Regions from separate parts of the Homo sapiens genome. Here region 2 is linked to region 1. The links are contacts of gene promoters, found by promoter capture Hi-C in blood cells and fetal thymus (Javierre and others, 2016). All regions are on one chromosome and are shown on one strand. The core of a region is centred on a gene start or on the middle of the fragment in contact, and the rest is flanking DNA. Distances in the headings are between cores, read along the strand shown. Region 1 holds the start of TRMT112 (tRNA methyltransferase activator subunit 11-2). Region 2 overlaps PYGM (glycogen phosphorylase, muscle associated).

Evidence for each region. The method cuts DNA at HindIII sites, captures the fragments that hold promoters and counts their contacts. A CHiCAGO score of 5 or more calls a contact.
Region 2: a fragment that was not itself captured here is called in contact with the fragment with the promoter of TRMT112 in region 1 in 1 of 17 cell types (monocytes); the score reaches 5.6 in monocytes.

The regions. Positions count from the first base shown.
Region 1 is chr11:64,314,442-64,320,823 of GRCh38, reverse strand. It overlaps TRMT112 (tRNA methyltransferase activator subunit 11-2), which reads left to right and starts at 3,265. Exons shown (of 4, transcript NM_016404.3): 1 at 3,265-3,375; 2 at 3,459-3,560; 3 at 3,677-3,766; 4 at 3,856-4,364. The coding sequence starts at 3,298. The coding sequence ends at 3,963. It overlaps ESRRA (estrogen related receptor alpha), which reads right to left. Exons shown (of 7, transcript NM_004451.5): 5 at 5,913-6,083; 6 at 5,554-5,823; 7 at 4,081-5,117. The coding sequence ends at 4,858. PRDX5 (peroxiredoxin 5) reads right to left here and starts at 2,703. Exons shown (of 6, transcript NM_012094.5): 1 at 2,438-2,703; 2 at 956-1,090; 3 at 32-163. The coding sequence starts at 2,608. RefSeq lists a silencer at 2,639-2,798 and enhancers at 2,889-3,088, 4,246-4,761. The HindIII fragment of the contact is 12,949 bases long and covers 1-6,382 here.
Region 2 is chr11:64,752,710-64,755,906 of GRCh38, reverse strand. It overlaps PYGM (glycogen phosphorylase, muscle associated), which reads left to right. Exons shown (of 20, transcript NM_005609.4): 6 at 349-460; 7 at 552-634; 8 at 1,071-1,214; 9 at 1,562-1,654; 10 at 1,882-2,028; 11 at 2,225-2,388; 12 at 2,720-2,834. Among named protein-coding and RNA genes, the nearest start is that of PYGM, 5.7 kb to the left of the region's middle. RefSeq lists an enhancer at 1,805-2,415. The HindIII fragment of the contact is 3,981 bases long and covers 1-3,197 here.

The DNA of each region.
Region 1 (6,382 bases), core at 2,016-4,515:
GTCCTGACTCCCTGCAGGCCCCTCACCTCACCTTGCCTTCCGCCTTGTGGGCTCGGCCCCACTCGCCAGTCACAAAGGCATCATTAACACTCAGACAGGCCACCACCTGGACTCCCTTGGCCTTCAGAGCCTCAGCCTGCTCCACAAACCCTGGCAGGTGTGTCTGAGGAAGGGGAACAAAGGGTCGGCAAAGGGATAACTGCATCTGACCCCCAGCCCACCCTTTATCTCCAGGCCCTCCTCAGTGCTCTGCCTCAACACCTTTGATCAGACAATGAGAGCTGTCTAAACCATTCTATTTCCTTTTTGCCTTGGCCACTAGGAAGCTCAGAATGAAACCTAATGCCTTATGGTCCAGACGTGAACTTTCCATGGGCAGATCTATGTCTTATTTATCTGAGTCCCAAGCACCTTCCACAGTGCCTGTCATTTAGCAGGACCAACAGGGGTGTTGGATTTAATTGTAGTATGTTTTTCTCCAACATTCCTGGTACTGTTCCCTTTTTGCAGTCTCTACTTGTTTTCTTTTTTTTTTTTTTCATTTTGAGACGGAGTCTCGCTCTTTCACCCAGGCTGGACTGCAGAGGCACGATCTCCACTCACTGCAACCTACGCCTCCTGGGTTCAAGCAATTCTCTGCCTCAGCCTCCCCAGTACCTGGGATTACAGGCGCCCGCCACCATGTCCGGCTGATTTTTTTGCATTTTTAGTAGAGACAGGGTTTCACCATCTTGGCCAGACTGGTTTTGAACTCCTGACCTCGTGATCCACCCGCCTTGGCCTCCCAAAGTGCTGGGATTACAGGCGTGAGCCACCGCGCCCAGCTCTACCCAGCTCTACTTGTTTTGTGATGGCACTGAAATGCTTTTTAGGAGTCCTATCAGGACTATGTGGAGGACTTAAGAGCAACACAAAAGATCCCAGGTCCTGATCTTCAGAAGGGGAAGGGCCTCACCTTGGAACATCCAGGGGTGAAGGCCCCAGGAACTCCAAACAGCACACCCTTCTTGCCCTTGAACAGCTCTGCCAGGTTCACCTTGTTCCCTGGCTCCCCTTCAAACACCTCCACTGCTGGGATGGCATCTCCCACCTAGAAGGAAGGACTCCAGGGTAAGGGGGGTGAGGGAGCCGGGGCAAACCAGAGGCAGGAAGGTGAACAGAGAGCCTGGCAGCTGTGCCTGCAGGAACCGGGGCTGAAACCCAGCAGGATACTCCAGCCCTGTCAGTTTCCAAGGGCCCTCCCTGCCCGCTCCCACTGGGTTACCCCATATCCTCCAAGTTTCAAGGTGGCCCTGCTCCTCTTAAGGGGCCATTGGTGACAACAGAGAAAGGGAGGGAAGGTTTCCCCATGTGTCGCAAAGGGTTGCATAACATGCTGTCTAGGTTACAGGAAAGGAGTGGAATAAAATGGACAGGGGCTAGAGGGCTGTATTTGGGGGTGAGGAGGAGTCCCTGACAACATGGAGGGAGAGGATCTTGGCCAGGTCTGAGGGTCCCACCCTCAGGAGGAGGAAGAGGAAGGGCAGCGGCAGGTGGAACGTTGGGGGAGGGTGTCCAGGCCCCTACACCCAGGAGGTGTAGAACAAAAGAAGGAATCTTTTGAAGGGGGAAGGATCCATCCCCAGAGTACTTGAGGGCTTCATGGGACCAGAGTGGGTAGGGAGAGAGAGTCAGAGGTGAGGGCCTCTGAGGAGCCCAAAGGTTGAGAGCAGGATGAAGTAGAAAGGGAATGGGGTCTCACAAGGTTTGGGAGGAGAAGGGGGAAGGTCCAAGGCCCTGGGGACGGTTCCAGGAAGTGAGTGAAAGACAGAAAGGTGGGAATTCGCCATGGGGGGAGGGGAGGTCATGGAGTGGGATGGGGTAAGCCCCCGCGGGGGCGCTAAGGGACAGCTGTTTCAGAAGATAGGGGAAATCAGGCCGGGAGTGGTGTCTCACACCTGTAATCCTAGCACTTCGGGAAGCCGAGGCGGGGGGGGGCGGGGGGGGTTCACCTGAGGTCAGGAGTTCGAGACCAATCTGAACAACGGGGTGAAATCCCGTCTCTACTAAAAATACAATAGCTGGGCGTGGTGGCTCGCATCTGTAGTCCCAGCTACTCAGGAGGCTGAGGCAGTAGAATCGCTTGAACCCGGGAGGCGGAGGCTGCAGTGAGCAGAGATTGCGTCACTGCACTCCAGCCTGGGCGACACAGAAAGACTCCGTCTCAAAAAAAAACAAAAAACAAAAAACACAATGCCTCGGGACTGTCCCGGGAGGTGAGGCCCCCACGATTGGCGAGAAAGGTGGGCAGCCACGAGGGCCTTCTGAAGGGATGAGCCGGGCGGGCGGAGGGGAGGGGTCTGGCAGGCAGGAAATAAAGCGATACTCTCAGACTAGCGGGACGGGGATTGCCATGGGGGTAGTGGGGGATGTCAGGCCCGGCCGGGCCAGCGGTCACCTTGATTGGGGCCATGGCTGCAGCGGCTCTGCTGAAACTGCGGACCCCGCCAGACGCCCACTCTCCTTCACTGTACCGTCTTGCTGCCGCTGCCGCAGACTGACCGCCGGCCCCACCGACGAGTATATAGCCCGCTGAGCGTCTCAGGGCGCACACGCCAGCTAGTCCCATACCCGCCCCACGGCCACTTCCACTCCGCCTCCTGGCTGGTGCCACCGCAGCAGGCGGGGCACCGCTAGCGGCACAGCGGCGACACCCTGCGGAAGGCGGGCCTGGGCCGCCTCCACTGCGCAGGCGCGAGCGGCCACCCGCAGAACAGAGCTTCCGGGACCCACGCCTCGTTTGCACTGGGTGCTGGACAGCCGACGCAACTACAAATGGGGCGGAGCTTTCGGCACTGGAGCAGCTAATTTGCATATAGGAATGAGGTGCGGCTCGGCTTCCATGGGCCTAATTTACAGATAGGGCGGTATTTCTGCCCCTTAACCGAAAGTGGGATACAGAGGACGACGGTGTTAGGCGCCTGTGTAGGAGTAAAATGTGTTTATTTTGCATTCAACGAGAGCTCCTGCATTGCAGCTATTTTGCATATGATTTGCATCTTACGAAGAATTTGTGGCAAAAAAAAGCTGGGCGTGCGCCGTAGGAACCTCCTGCTGAGACGCTTCCGGTAGCGGCGCGTGACCCGACAGGTCTTTCACCTACCTACCTCAGCTCCCACAAACACGAGAAGTTCCAGCAAGTTCGCCACTTCCGGTTCTCCTGGCTATCCAATAGCATCGAGAGGAGCATCCCCGGAAGTGAGGCAGCGGAGGACGACCTTTTTCCGGTTCCGGCCTGGCGAGAGTTTGTGCGGCGACATGAAACTGCTTACCCACAATCTGCTGAGCTCGCATGTGCGGGGGGTGGGGTCCCGTGGCTTCCCCCTGCGCCTCCAGGTACCCGCCGGCGGCAGTCTTCCCTTTTCGGGCGGGATGGTGGGCCGGGGTCCAGTGCTTGCCTAAACTCCTCCGCCCTGCAGGCCACCGAGGTCCGTATCTGCCCTGTGGAATTCAACCCCAACTTCGTGGCGCGTATGATACCTAAAGTGGAGTGGTCGGCGTTCCTGGAGGCGGCCGATAACGTGAGGATCCTTACCCCGCCCCAGCATATCCCGGGGAATGCGGGGCGGGCACACCTCAGCCGGGCTGAGGCGGGAGTTCGGGATGCCCGGAGATAATTTTGGCCTCTTGCCCACAGTTGCGTCTGATCCAGGTGCCGAAAGGGCCGGTTGAGGGATATGAGGAGAATGAGGAGTTTCTGAGGACCATGCACCACCTGCTGCTGGAGGTGAGAAGCGGCCCATCACTTGCTTCCCGGGCCACCTGCCTCCCGCACTGAGGCTGCCAGTGCTCAGCTCTGTCCCTCCCTGCCCGCAGGTGGAAGTGATAGAGGGCACCCTGCAGTGCCCGGAATCTGGACGTATGTTCCCCATCAGCCGCGGGATCCCCAACATGCTGCTGAGTGAAGAGGAAACTGAGAGTTGATTGTGCCAGGCGCCAGTTTTTCTTGTTATGACTGTGTATTTTTGTTGATCTATACCCTGTTTCCGAATTCTGCCGTGTGTATCCCCAACCCTTGACCCAATGACACCAAACACAGTGTTTTTGAGCTCGGTATTATATATTTTTTTCTCATTAAAGGTTTAAAACCAAAAGCGGTTTCTCTTTGCAGCAAATATACATTAAAATAGAGTCTCTGTACAGCCAAGGGCTCTGGGCCCTGGCTTGCCCCATGTCCCTGCGCCTCCCTGGCCAAACCCAAAAATAAATATAGTGTTATTGCTCTGCAGGGCATAGAGGCAGTGCTCTCCTACCCCCTGAGGAGGCTCGTTGGGAGCTGATGGGGAAGCCCTGGCCACCCCAGGGGTCCAGGGGCTGGAGTCTGCTTGGAGTTATTGCTTCAAGGGGGGACACTAATGCCCAATGCAAATGATGAGAGGAGGAGCGAAGGGGGCATGGGCCTTTGCTCTCCAAGTCCCACTCTGCTTTGAAGAGGGGGTAGGATTAAGCAGCAGCAAAAGCATCACCCACTGGGAGACTCTGGCCTCCATCCCCTTCCCTCCCTGAGATAGGTTTCTGCCTCCCACGCATCCCGTGCAGCCCCCTATGGCTTCCGCAAGGCCCCCTACACTCTGGGGGCACGTTATGGCTTGCAAGGGGCAGCACTGTGCCCAGAGCCTGGACACACGTTCCCAGCTTCTGACACCCCCTAGGAGGGGGAGGAGAGGGCGTGGGGCCTGTTCCCAGGGGCTGATGGCATTGCCCTGGCCCTGCCAGCAGGCTGTGGCACTGCCCAGACCCCAGCTCCGCCCCAGCCCTTGGGGCTGACCCCATGCTAGGCAGGTCCTGCCAGAACCCCCACCAGTCCCACCCCTTGCCTCAGTCCATCATGGCCTCGAGCATCTCCAAGAACAGCTTGTGCATGGGCACCTTGCCCTCCAGCTTCACCCCATAGAAATGGGCCAGCACTTTGCCCGCTGTCTGGCGGAGGAGCGGTAGCGTGAGCAGCAGCCTGCCCGCCCGCCGCCGCTCAGCACCCCCTCCGGGGCCAGCCCGGCCGGCTTCATACTCCAGCAGGGCCTCGTGCAGAGCTTCTCGCAGCTGCTCCACAGCCTCGGCATCTTCGATGTGCACAGAGTCTGCAAGAAGAGAGGAATGTGGTGTTGGCCTGGGCTATCTCTGGCAAGGGCACTCCCCGTATCTTGAGCACTGCTGGATGGGGCCTAAGGAAGAGCCAAACGAGGATTTGTTGATTGGCTGACTGAGAGGCACCACTCATTGCTGCGGCTCGTGGGCCAGGACCCCACCCTCTCTCCCTCAACTGTGGCCACCTTGTACCCTCCCCACCTTCCCTCCCACTAAATGACCTTTCTGCATTAGTGTGGCACTAGGGCTCAAAATCCTGTGTGCAGTTTGGAGCCTGCACTTGGCTTGCTTTTTGACTTCTAGCAAGTCATTGTTCTTCCCTAAGCCTCAGTTTTCGTTATCTGCAAAATGGGGCTGTGCTACCGTCACTGAGTTAACCTGAAGACCTTACGGAGACACCTCACCTGTCAGTGCCTGCCCCAGACTCACCTGAATTGGCAAGGGCCAAGGCCTTTAGTAGAACATACTCCTCTCGCTCCAGCCGCAGGGCCTGCAGCCGCCGCACTAGTTGCAGCAGGGCAGCCCCCAGTTCCCCCAGGCCAGCTGCCCGTGCCCCCTCTTCATCCAGGACTAAGTCCTCAGCGAAGGCCAGCTCATCCTGCAGTGGCAGTGAGCGCTGGGCCACACCCAGCACCAGCACCTCCATCCACACGCTCTGCAGTACTGACATCTGGTCAGACAGCGACAGCGATGAGAAGCCTAGGGGGCAGCGGGGAGCGGGCCTGGCTGAGCAAGCGCACCAGAGCCGGGCCCGTTCAGGGCAGCCCCGGGTCACCTGGGCCCTTTACCTGGGATGCTCTTGGCCCAGCTGATGGTGACCACAATCTCTCGGTCAAAGAGGTCACAGAGGGTAGCCACGGCTGGGAGGTGCCCATCAGGGCCTGCGGGGTCAGGCATGGCATAGAGCTTCTCAGGCTCAACCACCAGCAGATGAGACACCAGTGCATTCACTGGGGCTGCTGTGACAATTAGAGGACAAGAGTCAGGAGCACTCGAATCTGTCAGGCCTCAGGGGTCAAGCATCTTCCCACAGTGGCTCCCCCTGTGGCCTTCCTCAGTAGCAGCTGTCCAGTGACTTCCCTCCAGGGAAGAGCGCTAACTGTCTCCCAGGGAAAGCCCGTGTGTTTGTGGACAGGCTGTGAGTGTTGGAAAATCGTCCCTGTTCCCAGTTCTACTACTTTTCCTGATGCAGGAAAAGGCAGTTTCACATGTCTTGGGGAAATGAGTGAGTGAAGAGACGAAGGGGAAATACAGGTCC
Region 2 (3,197 bases), core at 235-2,734, 440 kb before region 1:
AGCTTTTGCTCAGGCCAGGCTGGCCAGCCCAGCCCCCATTGCTGCAGAGTGGTCGCCAACAGAGCCCCTCCTGGGTTCCGGGCTTATCACCTGCCTCCTTCCATTTTCCTCACCACCGTCTGCCCAGGCAGGGCTTATGGGTGTCGGGGAGGTGTTGAGGGTGTCTTTGCTCTAGATGCGGTCCAGAGAGACTATGGGGTTTGCTCATGGTTACCCAGCTCATCGATGCTAGACAAGGACAAGAGCCTGGGTCTGCAGAGTGCAGGGATAAAGCCTTGAGTCCCAGCCCTGAGGGGAGGGAGGCAATTGCCAGGGCTGGCCAGCTCCTGACAGGATTGCCCCCCGCAGGTGGTACTGGCCATGCCCTACGATACGCCCGTGCCTGGCTATCGCAACAATGTTGTCAACACCATGCGCCTCTGGTCTGCCAAGGCTCCCAATGACTTCAACCTCAAGGACTGTGAGTTCATCCACTGGTAGCCAGCAACCCCAGCTTGCCCGCCGGCCACGCCCAGCGCAGGCCTTACCCTGTCCCCACTTTTGTCCCTCAGTCAATGTCGGTGGCTACATCCAGGCTGTGTTGGACCGAAACCTGGCGGAGAACATCTCTCGTGTCCTGTACCCCAATGATAATGTGCGTCACCCCCTGGGCTGGGGGCTGGAAGCCTGAGTCCTTGGCAGCAGGGGTCAGGGAGAGCTGGGGAAGGACACTTGCTGGTGCCCTAGTCACACCCAGGGCATATTGCTGGCCTTGTGCATCCTGTGCCCCCACCTCAAGTCTTTTGAGTGCAAGGACACCTGAGTCCTGAGGAAACTGGGTTAGCGAAGGGCACTTTGGAGGGGCTGTTCCCTGGCGACACCCACAACACACTCGGTTCTTGTACCCCTCTTCCTGACACTGTCTCTCGCCACTAGTTCTTGGTGGAGGAAAGGCCCCTGGGTCCCAGAGAGGGGGCCGGCTCAGGGCTCAGGGGTCCCGGTATGGGTGGGAGTCCCTCCTGGCCACACCCACCGCAGCTTTAGGCCATGCCCCCACCGCCCTGACTCACGCTGCCTCATGCTGTCCCCAGTTCTTCGAAGGGAAGGAGCTGCGGCTGAAGCAGGAGTATTTCGTGGTGGCTGCCACCCTCCAGGACATCATCCGTCGCTTCAAGTCTTCCAAGTTCGGCTGCCGTGATCCCGTGCGCACGAACTTCGATGCCTTCCCAGATAAGGTACCATGCGTGTGGAGGGCGACTCTGTGACCGGACAGTGTGTGCTAGGCCTCTCCCTCCAGCCTCGGCCTGCCTGCCCCATGTAATAGATAAGGGAGTGGAGACTGGGAGTGTGGGAGGGTCAGTTGTTCAGGATTCACAATCCACAGGCTCAGAACCTGGGCTTCCCTCCTCCTCCCGCCCCACTCCCCCCATTCCTCCCACCCCCATGAGCACCGGCCTGCCTCTGCCCACAGCCCAGTCACAGAACCGTGCTGGGCTCTCTGGGGGCCTCCAAATGGCATAGGGCAGTGACCATAGCATGGAATGTGGTTTGGAGCCCAGACTGACCCCTCCCCCTACCCCAGGTGGCCATCCAGCTCAATGACACCCACCCCTCCCTGGCCATCCCCGAGCTGATGAGGATCCTGGTGGACCTGGAACGGATGGACTGGGACAAGGTGGGCTTCAGGGCCCCTCTGCCCCATCTGATGCTCTCTGCCTCGGGGTTCCCTTCCCAGTTTGGGAGCGTGGGAGGATATGAATGGAGTGAAGGGATCAGAGCCTGAGGCCAGAGGGACCGTCCTGGAACCTGGCACTGCAGTGGGGGGGCCCACTGGGATGCGTAGTGTGTGAGGAGACCCACTGGGCTGAGGTCAGCATCCTGACTGCCCACCCCGTGTGCCAGGCGTGGGATGTGACAGTGAGGACCTGTGCCTACACCAACCACACGGTGCTGCCCGAGGCCCTGGAGCGCTGGCCGGTGCACCTCTTGGAGACGCTGCTGCCGCGGCACCTCCAGATCATCTACGAGATCAACCAGCGCTTCCTCAACGTGAGTCCGGAGGCTTGGGGGATGGTGTGGGGGTGAGGGGGGACACCCAGTCTGGGCCTGGGAGTCGGGGCGTCCAGCCAGGGCCCTGAGACTCTGGGGCAGTGGGGGCACTGGGCAGAGCTCTGGGGGTGTGGGGCTGGGGACTGGGGATGGGGGTTCCTGGGTCTGGTTCTAGCTCTGGGCTCTCTGGGCACAGCGGGTGGCGGCCGCATTCCCAGGGGACGTAGACCGGCTGCGGCGCATGTCGCTGGTGGAGGAGGGCGCAGTGAAGCGCATCAACATGGCACACCTGTGCATCGCGGGGTCGCACGCCGTCAACGGCGTGGCGCGCATCCACTCCGAGATCCTCAAGAAGACCATGTGAGCCCCGCTTTCCAGATCCCGCCCCTCTCTAGGCCCCACCCACTCCACGCCTCTGTCACACAGAAGCCCCGCCCTTCACCGACCACTCTCTGGTCTCTGGGCCCTGGCGCCTTTCACAGGTGGCGTCATTCTTACAAGCACAGCAGCCCCTTCCAGTGCCGCCCTGTCCTGAGATGACCTCCTCTTACACACAGCACCCCCAACCTTCCCCAGGTCTGCATTCCCTGCCCCAGGCCCCTTTCAGCAAGACACCAGGGTAGGGGCCCCAGGGCAGAGGCCTTCATTGTACAGGGGTGAGTGGTGACCCTCGTCCAACCTCATCCTGCAGCTTCAAAGACTTCTATGAGCTGGAGCCTCATAAGTTCCAGAATAAGACCAACGGCATCACCCCTCGGCGCTGGCTGGTTCTGTGTAACCCCGGGCTGGCAGAGGTCATTGCTGAGGTGAGAGGCCACCGTAGGGCCAGTAGAGTCAACATGGGTCCCTGCAGGGATCAGCTGGGTATGGTCGTGTAGGTGGTTCACTGCATCAGGGCTCCCAGCTGAAGGCTGAAATCCCTCCTGCACTGTGTTCCCCAAGCCTCGCATCCACCTGGAGGAGGGACACCATCTTAATTGCATGAGGGTGCTCTGTGTGCTAATGGAGGCCCTGGCTGTGGAGGTGAACACAGCAGAGGGAGTCATCCATGGGTCACATCTGAAGTGAGCCTGGAAGGGGGCAGATATCTGGTAGGGAAGGCGCAAGGTCATGCTGGCGTTAGGAAAAGGCCAGGAAGCCAGGAAGGCCTGCTGGGGTCAGGTGGGGTC